3 separate regions of the Homo sapiens genome follow, and regions 2 and 3 are each linked to region 1. The links are contacts of gene promoters, found by promoter capture Hi-C in human tissues and cell types (Jung and others, 2019). All regions are on one chromosome and are shown on one strand. Each heading gives the region's core, a stretch centred on a gene start or on the middle of the fragment in contact. The rest is flanking DNA. Distances are from core to core; before and after follow the strand shown. Region 1 holds the start of CHTF8 (chromosome transmission fidelity factor 8). Region 2 holds the start of SMPD3 (sphingomyelin phosphodiesterase 3). Region 3 overlaps ZFP90 (ZFP90 zinc finger protein).

The links. The method cuts DNA at HindIII sites, captures the fragments that hold promoters and counts their contacts. A contact is called where the count stands out against the background at its distance.
Region 2: a contact is called between the fragment with the promoter of SMPD3 here and the fragment with the promoter of CHTF8 in region 1, in 2 of the 25 tissues and cell types used here (heart right ventricle and stomach).
Region 3: a contact is called between a fragment that was not itself captured here and the fragment with the promoter of CHTF8 in region 1, in 2 of the 25 tissues and cell types used here (lymphoblastoid cells and mesenchymal stem cells).

What each region holds. Positions count from the first base shown.
Region 1 is chr16:69,131,151-69,134,126 of GRCh38, reverse strand. CHTF8 (chromosome transmission fidelity factor 8) reads left to right here and starts at 1,539. Exons shown (of 4, transcript NM_001039690.5): 1 at 1,539-1,643. It overlaps DERPC (DERPC proline and glycine rich nuclear protein), which reads left to right and starts at 1,539. Exons shown (of 3, transcript NM_001002847.4): 1 at 1,539-1,643. It overlaps UTP4 (UTP4 small subunit processome component), which reads right to left and starts at 1,478. Exons shown (of 17, transcript NM_032830.3): 1 at 1,438-1,478; 2 at 509-669. The coding sequence starts at 667. RefSeq lists silencers at 1,430-1,789, 1,810-1,959. The HindIII fragment of the contact is 4,885 bases long and covers 1-2,976 here.
Region 2 is chr16:68,447,030-68,450,005 of GRCh38, reverse strand. SMPD3 (sphingomyelin phosphodiesterase 3) reads left to right here and starts at 1,498. Exons shown (of 9, transcript NM_018667.4): 1 at 1,498-1,653. LOC124903705 (a long non-coding RNA gene) reads right to left here and starts at 1,166. Exons shown (of 2, transcript XR_007065097.1): 1 at 940-1,166; 2 at 1-841. RefSeq lists an enhancer at 1,131-1,180 and a silencer at 1,281-1,800. The HindIII fragment of the contact is 13,014 bases long and covers 1-2,976 here.
Region 3 is chr16:68,566,192-68,569,167 of GRCh38, reverse strand. ZFP90 (ZFP90 zinc finger protein) reads right to left here. Exons shown (of 5, transcript NM_001305203.2): 5 at 2,037-2,976. Among named protein-coding and RNA genes, the nearest start is that of ZFP90, 28 kb to the right of the region's middle. The HindIII fragment of the contact is 4,837 bases long and covers 1-2,976 here.

The sequences.
Region 1 (2,976 bases), core at 290-2,789:
GGACATTTTACCTAATTTTAAATCTCCTTTACTCCCAAATGTAGACATGTAGGTCTACATTCTCTCAGACAGATGAACTTTGGAATCCATCTTCCCACATCACCAAAAAGTTTCTGATATTAAAACGTGTTATCATTTTTTCTGAATTGACAATGAAACAGTACTGATACTCCCTGCAGGAAATTTTGCTTACCAAAGCTGCAATGGTGTTGAGACTGATATACCAACAATTTCCCTTCCTGTGTCCAAAAGATCCAGCAAACCTCAGTTTCCAATGACAGGCAGTGAGATGTCACATTTCTAGGTAGGACCCTTCTAATCAACATTACACAGATTGAAACTGAGCTTCTCTTATCAGTTAGGAGATCTCAGAAGTTTGGTAGTTCTAAGCAACTTCAGAGGGGCTAGGAAGTCACTCAATCAGTTTGATTATAAAAGACATACAAGCTTCTTGAACTTCAGAAGAAATTAACATCAAAACACCATATCAGACTCCCAAATGACTTACTTTCTCCTGAAAGTAGTTTGCTGACAAGTTATAAATTTCCACAGTGCCATCTGTTCGTGAAACAGCCAATCTGTTTGACTGGTTATTGTAAGCCACACAGCGGATTCCTGATGGAACATAATTAAAGAAACGTACTCGATGGACCTTAAATTCACCCATTCCTAGGGGGCGAAAAGAGAGTCATTATTGCTATATGTTAACTGCAGTATGTCACATATAGTATTCAGTTCCTTAATATCACTGTTCTGGCTGGAAGGCTCCAACAACATCTCCCTGAAGTTCATTTCCAAATGGCTGCTAACAATGCCCCCCACAAGAATTACTCAATCTTCAAAAGCTCAGAATGGCTTGAATAATAAGGAGGCTTCAGCAAAAAATCAAAAAGGGTCCTACTCCATAGCTCCAGAGTTCCTATCTCGGGGCGCCTAGGAATCCGCATTTTAGCAAGCATCTCTCCTCAACTCTATTGCTAAGTTTGCAAACAACAGACCTAAACTGAGGTAGTGACAGTGAGGCTGATGGGGCAGGCAGAACCGAGCTCCTCTTGAGGAAGAAACGACAGGGTTTGACTTAATCTGGCTGCCTGGTCTGACGTCTGTCACTTACCCTACCCCGTCCCCCCGACGCCCGCCAACATATATACTGGCCGAGAGTAGAGACCAGGTCTTGTTCGCCCCTCACTGGCCTAGCTTCAAGGTTAGGAACCCGCAGACAGAGCAAGCGCGTTCGGTCGGGCCGGGGCGTCTGAGGCGCGCGCGGTCTTCGCCTCCCCTTCCCTCTCCCCGAGTCTACAGAGTAGCCCCCACCCCGCCTCGGGACAAGGAGACCCTCGGGACAAGGAGCTCAGCCGGACGCCGACCCTGGGCCGGCCACCTTGTAAGACCCCCCCAGCTCTCGCAGCCGCTTCCCACGCCCCTTCCCCAACTCACCAGCGGCCCCACGCTCCCCTTCCCGGTGCTCGCCTCTCTCCGCCCCGGCCCCACGTGCGCGCGCGCTCTCAGGCTCTGCCCCGGAAGTGCTCCTGGCGCATAGTCGGAAGTGCGCAGGCAGTGCTCGCGGCGGCGGCGACGGCGGCGGGAGGTTCGGTTGTCGCCCGTTGGCCGCGCGGCGCCGCGCTCGGCGGCCGCCATTGCAGGTCAGGCCGCGGGCGGGGGGCACGGGAGGCTGCGGGGAGCGAGGGCCGAGCCGGGATTGGGGGCGAGGGCGCGAGGGAGCGGGAAGCTAGGGAGCCGGGGCCGGGCGGGGCGCGCGGCTCGGAGAGAAGAATGGCGAGCCGAGGGGCGGGGAGCGCGGGCGGGGGAGGGGTGGCCGGGAAGGGGGAGGGCGGCGGGAGGGCGGCGCGGAGGTGGGGGCAAGCCCGGAGGGGCCTCCGGGGTGGGAGGGCCAGGAGTGTGGGGGAAGGGAGCGGTGTGGAGACGGAAGGCGGAGGGAAGGAAGGGAGCGAGCGGGGCGGAGCGGGAGAAGGGCGGAAAGGGTGGCCGAGCGCGGGCGGAGGACGGAGAAGGGGGCGGCGAGGGCCGGAATCTCGAGGTACGTGCGGGAAGGGGCTCTTCCCGGGGTTGGGAGGGAGCCCAGCCCGCTATGCTTGCGGGAGCGGAGTAGAACTGGAACCTAGGAAGTAGCGGGAAGAGCAGAAAGGGGAGTTCGGGGTGGGGGTTAGGACCGTGAGGTTTTGTTCCAGGTAACATTTGTAATCGTGGAGGGGGGAGGCTTCTGGGAGAGGTAATTGGAAGGGTGGTTGGAGAGTCATTCCAGGTTCTTTTGTGGGAGGGAAGCCGAGAGACGAGTGGGGTGGGGTCCTGGAGGAGTGGAGTACTTGAGAACCGGGAACAATTTGGAGAACGAGGGTGGTAGAGAAAGGACGTTTAAAGAGTAATCTTTGGGAAGAGGGTGAACGGTTTGGAAGACCACTCCAGTGGGTGGTGTGGAGGAAGGCGGTTTAAAGAATAGTTTCCCTGGGAGGCAGGAAAAGGGGTTAAAACAGCTTGTAATTTGGAGGGGGGTGGAGAAGAGGGGGGAAGCGGATTGAGAAGTCCCAGAAAGTGGGTGGGACTAGAAATAGGAAGTGTTTGTAGCTCTAGCAGAAAGGGTGGGAGGGGGCCGAGAGGGAGTGGGTGGAGAAGATGGGGGTGGGTGGGAGGAAGAGCACAGAGGGAGACTCTACGCCGGGCTAGAAAGGAAAGGGTTTGGGGGAGTACAGGGGGCCGTACCATTAAGAGGAGGACAGGCTAAGATGGGGCTGCAGAGTAGCAGAAGATGGAGAAAACTGCAGTAACTCAGATCGACTGAAGCCATCTTTTCCACCCATTGCTACAAATACCAGTAATTGATTCCCTCCAACGTGGGAATCCTAAAATGTGATGGGAAGTATCACGTGTATGCATAGCATCCACACACGTTTTTGAACACACTTCACTAATGTAAAGTTTGGAAGCATTCAATTCCACCAACCCTCCATAAGCCCCTTT
Region 2 (2,976 bases), core at 249-2,748, 680 kb after region 1:
TTTTTTTTTGAGACAGGGTCTCACTCTGTTGTCCAGGCTGGAGTGTAGTGGTGCAATCTCGACTCACTGCAACCTCCACCTCCCGGGGTTCAAGCGATTCTCCCGCCTCAGCCTCCTGAATAGCTGGGATTACAGGCACGTGCCACCACGCCCAGCTAATTTTTGTATTTTTAGTAGAGACTGGGTTTCACCATTTTGGTCAGACTTGTCTCGAACTCCTGACCTAGTGATCCACCTGCCTCGGCCTCCCAAAGTTCTGGGATTACAGGCGTGAGCCACCACGCCCGGCCCAATTCATTTTCAATTCAACAAATATCTATATTTATATCTCAATAGCTAGTGAGTGCCTACTACGTGCCAGATACTAGACACTGGACTGTAAGTATGAATAATATAGACATGGCCCCTCCCCTGTGGATCTTATAATGAGGAAGACGAGCACATAAACATGCAAGTAGAACAGGGGAAGTAGAGGGTGCTGCTCAAACACAGGGTGGGGCACTCAACAGACAGCCCAGCATCTAGATGTCTTCACAAAACAGGCAATGTCTAGGCTGGGGCTTGCCGACGAGTTAGCTGAGGGCAGGGTGGAGAGGCCCAAGGGAGTAGGAGGCTTCCCAGCTTCCAAAGAAGTTAAGAGTGTTGCAAAAAAGTGGAGTCCAGATCTTGAAGGGGAGAGTGGGCTTAGGTCCGGGGGCATGTGAAGCGCCCTCCGTCTGCTGCGCTGGGGGAGATGCTGCGGTATCCTGGAGTGGTGTGAAGGAGGCCAGGACCTGCGATGGGAAGACGGAGACGGGAAGGCCCTGGTGGCCCAAGGGATGACCAAAAGTGAAGCGCTCCTCTATGACAAGATTGAGACAAAAATAAAGGAATAAAGTTCTGAATGCGGTGGGAGAGTCTCCTCCGTCCTCCCTCACCTTTGCTGGGCAGGAACCAAACCTGCTTGCCCTCGGTTTGCCCCATCACCGACGGGTGTGGTCGGGGGCACAGCTCTTCGCCCTTCTTCTCAGATAGGAAAACTGAGGCCCAGGGTCCTGAGGCAGAAATCAAGGTTTTCTCCTCGAAATGGCCTCCCAAGAGGCTGCCCGGGGTCTCACACGATCCTTCGAGGGTCCTGCGGCCTGCCCCACGCCTCCGCCAGCCATCCTCGGCTGGTCGTCTTTGCTATGGAAACGGTCCTCCCGCCCTGCTCCGCGCCTCCGTGTCTTCAGTGCACTCTGGGAAATGCAGTCCCGCTCTGTTTGCCTACCCGCGGCGTGAGCCCACTCCGCGTCCTTAAAGAACTATAAGTCCCAGAAGGCTGTGCGAAACTCCGCCGGTCTCTGGGGGATGTGGTCTTGAAGGAGAGACCCAGGAACCTGCGGGCGGGGCCGGAGGGAGAGGGGAGGACGCCCCCAATGGGCAGACTCCTGGGCGGGGTCCGGGTCACCATTGGCTCCGGCGGCGCGAGGGAGGCGGGGTCAGAGGAATGAAGCGCGGAGCTGTTCGCCGCTCCAGGTGCTGAGTCTGAGGGAGGCTCCGGACCCGAGAGCCGCGAGAGCCGCCGCCGCTGCGGCCGCCGCCAGATCTGCGGCCGGGAGCCCGGGCTGTGAGGAGCCGGGAGGAGCGGGGTGCGCTGCCGGGCGCTGACCGCCCTCCCGCCCGCCGTCAGAGGTCAGTGCTGCTGAATTCGCTTTTGTTTTCTTGGGGAGCGGGCGAACCGAGGCGTGAGGGGCTGGGGAGTTGACGGGACGTGTTCTCGTTGCTCTCAGGACCGCGGGTCCCGGACAGCCGCCGACTGACTAGGGGCCTCCCGTGGCCGGGCGCCGGAGGTCGGAGCAGCTTGGGTTAGTTTTCGTTTTATCATGGAGAAGGCTCTTGGGTATGAGGGGCGAGGGCTGGGGGTCACCCCCACCCCCCATCTCTCCTGGGAGAGCGAGGAGGCTTGGACCCTCCCTCCCGCTGTGCCTGGCGACGGGGCTGCTCGGATTACTCAGGACGGGAGGATGAGGTGTTGTGGGATGAAGGGACTCGAGGCAGGGGGACCCCTCCCCGCAACACTTCGGCTGCTCGAGGTTACAAAGGAGTCTGGTGGTGATGGATGAGATCGCGGACCGCTCCCCTAGCCCAGACCCTCCCAGGGGTATTCAGGAAGGGCTGCTTGGGATGCAGGGAAGACCCTTGCCCAGGCCCCTTCCTCCACACTCGCCCCCCTCCCTATTCCCCCCTCCTCCCTTGGCCCTAGGGTTTTGTAAAGAGGAGGATCGAGGATGTGGAAGAGACAGAGGACTCTTACCCCTCCCACTTGGACCCTCCTAGGTTACTGGTGAAGGGTGGAATTGGAATGTGGCAGGGAAACGCTGGGAGACCCCTCCCCATCCTTCTCGGAGTCGCGGGTGGAGGAAAGCACTGACACTCGGAATCCCCCGCGCTCGGGCCCGCGCCGAGGGTTGGGTGGCCTGGGTGTGAGAGGTAGTGTAGGGGGATGTACGAGGACAGGAGGGACCCCTCCCCACCTCTCCCCACCTGGGCCTTATCTCCCAGGCCCTCCCTACCTGGATCCAGGCCTGGGGCTCTAAGTCGAGACGACCCGCCCTAGCCCACCACGCCCCGGGGACCGAGCCTCTGGCACCGCAGCTGGGGGCCAATCCCAGATGGGCATGTACAGAGCGGGACGGGGCGGGTCTCCCCTCAAGCACTCAAGAGCTCCAGGTAGACGCTACCCCCAACCTCGTGCCCGCGAATCTTTGGGGGCTGCTCCGCTCCGATGCAGGGCGCACCCCAAACCGAGGCTCGGGGACCTGCTTCCAGGACGCGCGGTGGCTGTTCCAAGGCATGGGGCTTTCGCGCTCGGCCCAGGCATCCTCGAGAGGACAAAGCGGCGGTCGCCGCACTGGCAGGCCTGCGCCGCGGGCTGGGCGGGGGGCGCGGCCGCGGAGGGGGGGCTTCGGGCGCGGCGCGGGCAGCTTCCACGGAAACGTGCCAGGAGCGGGGCGG
Region 3 (2,976 bases), core at 258-2,757, 560 kb after region 1:
GAGACTCCATCTCAAAAAAAAAAAAAAAAAAGTGGGACTAATTGTCATAGTTGTTTTTCTTCAGCCACATTTAGCTGGATGGATATAGGAGTGGAATAGGCAGCTCTAGGCTCTTCTTTATTGTTTCGCCAGATGCTCTGGTTCCTTCATTTAAAAACTGTATGTTAAATTATAAGAATATGCCATGATTGACTGGGCACAGTGGCTCACACCTGTAATCCCAGCACTTTGGGAGGCCAAGGAAATGGATCACTTGAGGCCAGGAGTTCGAAACCAGCCTGGCCAACATAGCGAAAACTCATCTCTACTAAAAATACAAAAATTAGTCGGGTGTGGTGGTGCACACCTGTGGTCCCAGCTACTTGGGATGCTGAAACATGAGAATCACTTGAACCTGGGAGGTGGAGGCTGCAGTGAGCTGAGATCGTACTGCTGCACTCCAGCCTGGGTGACAAGGCAAGACCCTGTCTCAAAAAGAATATGCCATGACTTATTGTTAACCTATTCACTTCCCAGTATTTCTGTTGTGTTCATATTTTTACTCTTTAAAACACTGCCTCAATAAACATCTTTGTGTGTGTCTCTTTTCCTCACAAGGGAGAATTTCTAGTCTAGGATATGTATCTCCTAGTGGTATTGCTGAGACATGAGATATGCTTAGCTTTGATTTTACTGGATATTGCCAAATTACTCCCCAAAATAATTATACCAAGTTACCCTCTTGCCAGCAGTGTATAAAAGTTCTAATTCCCCTCTGCCAGATTTCTCAATTTTTGCCAGCCTAATTGGTAGGAAACAGTATTACATTGTTTTATTTTGCAATATTCTGACTTCAAGATTGAGCATCTTTTCATTTACCTACCAGTCTTCTTTGTCTAGCAATCAATCTCCACTCAATTGCTCACTTAAAACACTATATCACTATATTAAGTATCTACCATATGCCTGGCATTAATTAGCAGGGTAATAAAAAGAGCTATCAAAACAGACATGGACTCTTGCCTTCCTGGAACTCACCATCTAGTGTAGGAAAAAGAAAACCAAATAATCACAAATACAAACTGTGGTAACATGGAGGACATTAACAGTAATCCATGAAAATTTTTAAAAGGGAGACCAATGTAATTGAAATAGGAGAGTCAGCAAAACCTTTCCTGAAGCACCATTTGCATTTTAACAGATGAGTAGGAATTAACCACCTTAGTATTTTTAAAAAGTGCTCAATCTTGAAGTCAGAATACTGCAAAGTGAAAAGCCTACTGCAGCTATTAAAAAAACCAAGCATCACCACCATCAATATGCCTAAAAGTGCAGAAGTCTTTTCTCATCTTCCATGGAGGTGCGCTAGATGCTCTGGCAGGTAAAAGTATATCATACATATTTTAGGTTTCTTTAATGCAAGCAACAAACATAAAAAATTAGCTTGAGCAAAAAGGAGAAACTGTTGGACTGATGGGGAGCTTCCTGAATCCCAAGGAGAGCTTCAGAAATTGAGCCAGGTCTAAGGACATCAGGAAATAGAAACAAGAACACCATCATGTCAACCTTGTCCTCTCCTACTTCCCATCTCTGGTAAGAAATCAGGTTCCAGGAAGCTCTAGGCCTTTATCTTTTGGCCTAGCAACACAAAAGCCCAAAGTAGGGCTCCTTCCAGCTCTACTTGGAAAAAATTCTGGCAAAGGACTCTGATTAGCTGAACTAGGTCTCATGCCTGCCCCTAAAACTATCAGTGAGCCCCAGGGACATCCTGATTTAGGTTCCTACAGTCAATACAATCAGATTGTTGCAAGAGGAAAAGGGGGAAAATGCTGGGCAAAGACAAGAACTACCACCACACCGCTAACCAGAAGTTATAAGGATTGAATGACAGATGTGAAACACCTAGCACAATGTCTTTAAAGTAGTAAGCATTCAATAAATGGTAGCTATTAACTCACCTGGCTGTGATGAGTTTAGCAGTTAATTCCTCCCTCTTGGTGCACCACTCTTTAATCTTAGCCAAGTTCTGAAAATTGAAAACGACAAACTGACTCCCATTCAACTCAGAAGGCTATTTATTGAAAGAATACAATGATGTTACAAGGATGCATTTCACGTAGCCCTAAAAGGCTGGGTATCCATAAGTGCATGGTTCATGGCTGTTGGGACTAAGAAAGCCTTCTGGTCAATGAGCCACACATATGTCCTGGGCTCCCTCCCTGTCAATGAAGATGTGCTGAGTTTCAGAGTGGTGGCTGGATCTAGGCCAAGCACCAAACACAAACCAGTACTCTCCTTTGGGTCTTCTGGAACTAAGGTTTTATAAACTTCCGTAACAGTGGGGGCAGCACTCAGTTGGTTACAATTCATGCCATTCCTGAAAGTAGTCCACTATGGGGATCCCCAAACAACCAGTAGCATAATGAGTTCCTGACAGGCATCCTAGCCAATCAGTAGGGAGGGTCTGAGTAGAATTACCCATTGTCAAACTATGTATCAGATAATAGAAGCACAGCCTTGGCATTGTGTGTGAGCTAATCATGGTGCACCATAAACAAGGTGTTTTGGATGGTCAGCATCTCAGAAGGGCAGATCTGCCATTGAATATTCCATTTTGCATCACAGAGGAGAGACTAATTGAGCTACACATATTACATTTCAGCCCCCATGCACAATTTTTTCCCTGCAAAGAATGAAGAATACTTGGGTGCTGCTGCATGCCATCCATGATGAGAGAAAGGCAATGAATCCTGCTATGTGGCATGCAAAGAATCCAGTAGGAAAGGTTCACCATCAATACGACCAATATCTTGCCCCATGATTCATATTTAGGGCTGGGAAAATTTATCTATCTTTGGGAGGCAGCTCTTGTGTAAAAGGAATCAATGTCCAGTTGTGCCCAAATTGGTCTGCATGGTCAATGTCAACACACCAACAAAGGTTCTGGAAGTTCCTTTAGGATAGCCCATGGGAGTCATTAGGGGATGGAGCAGGCCA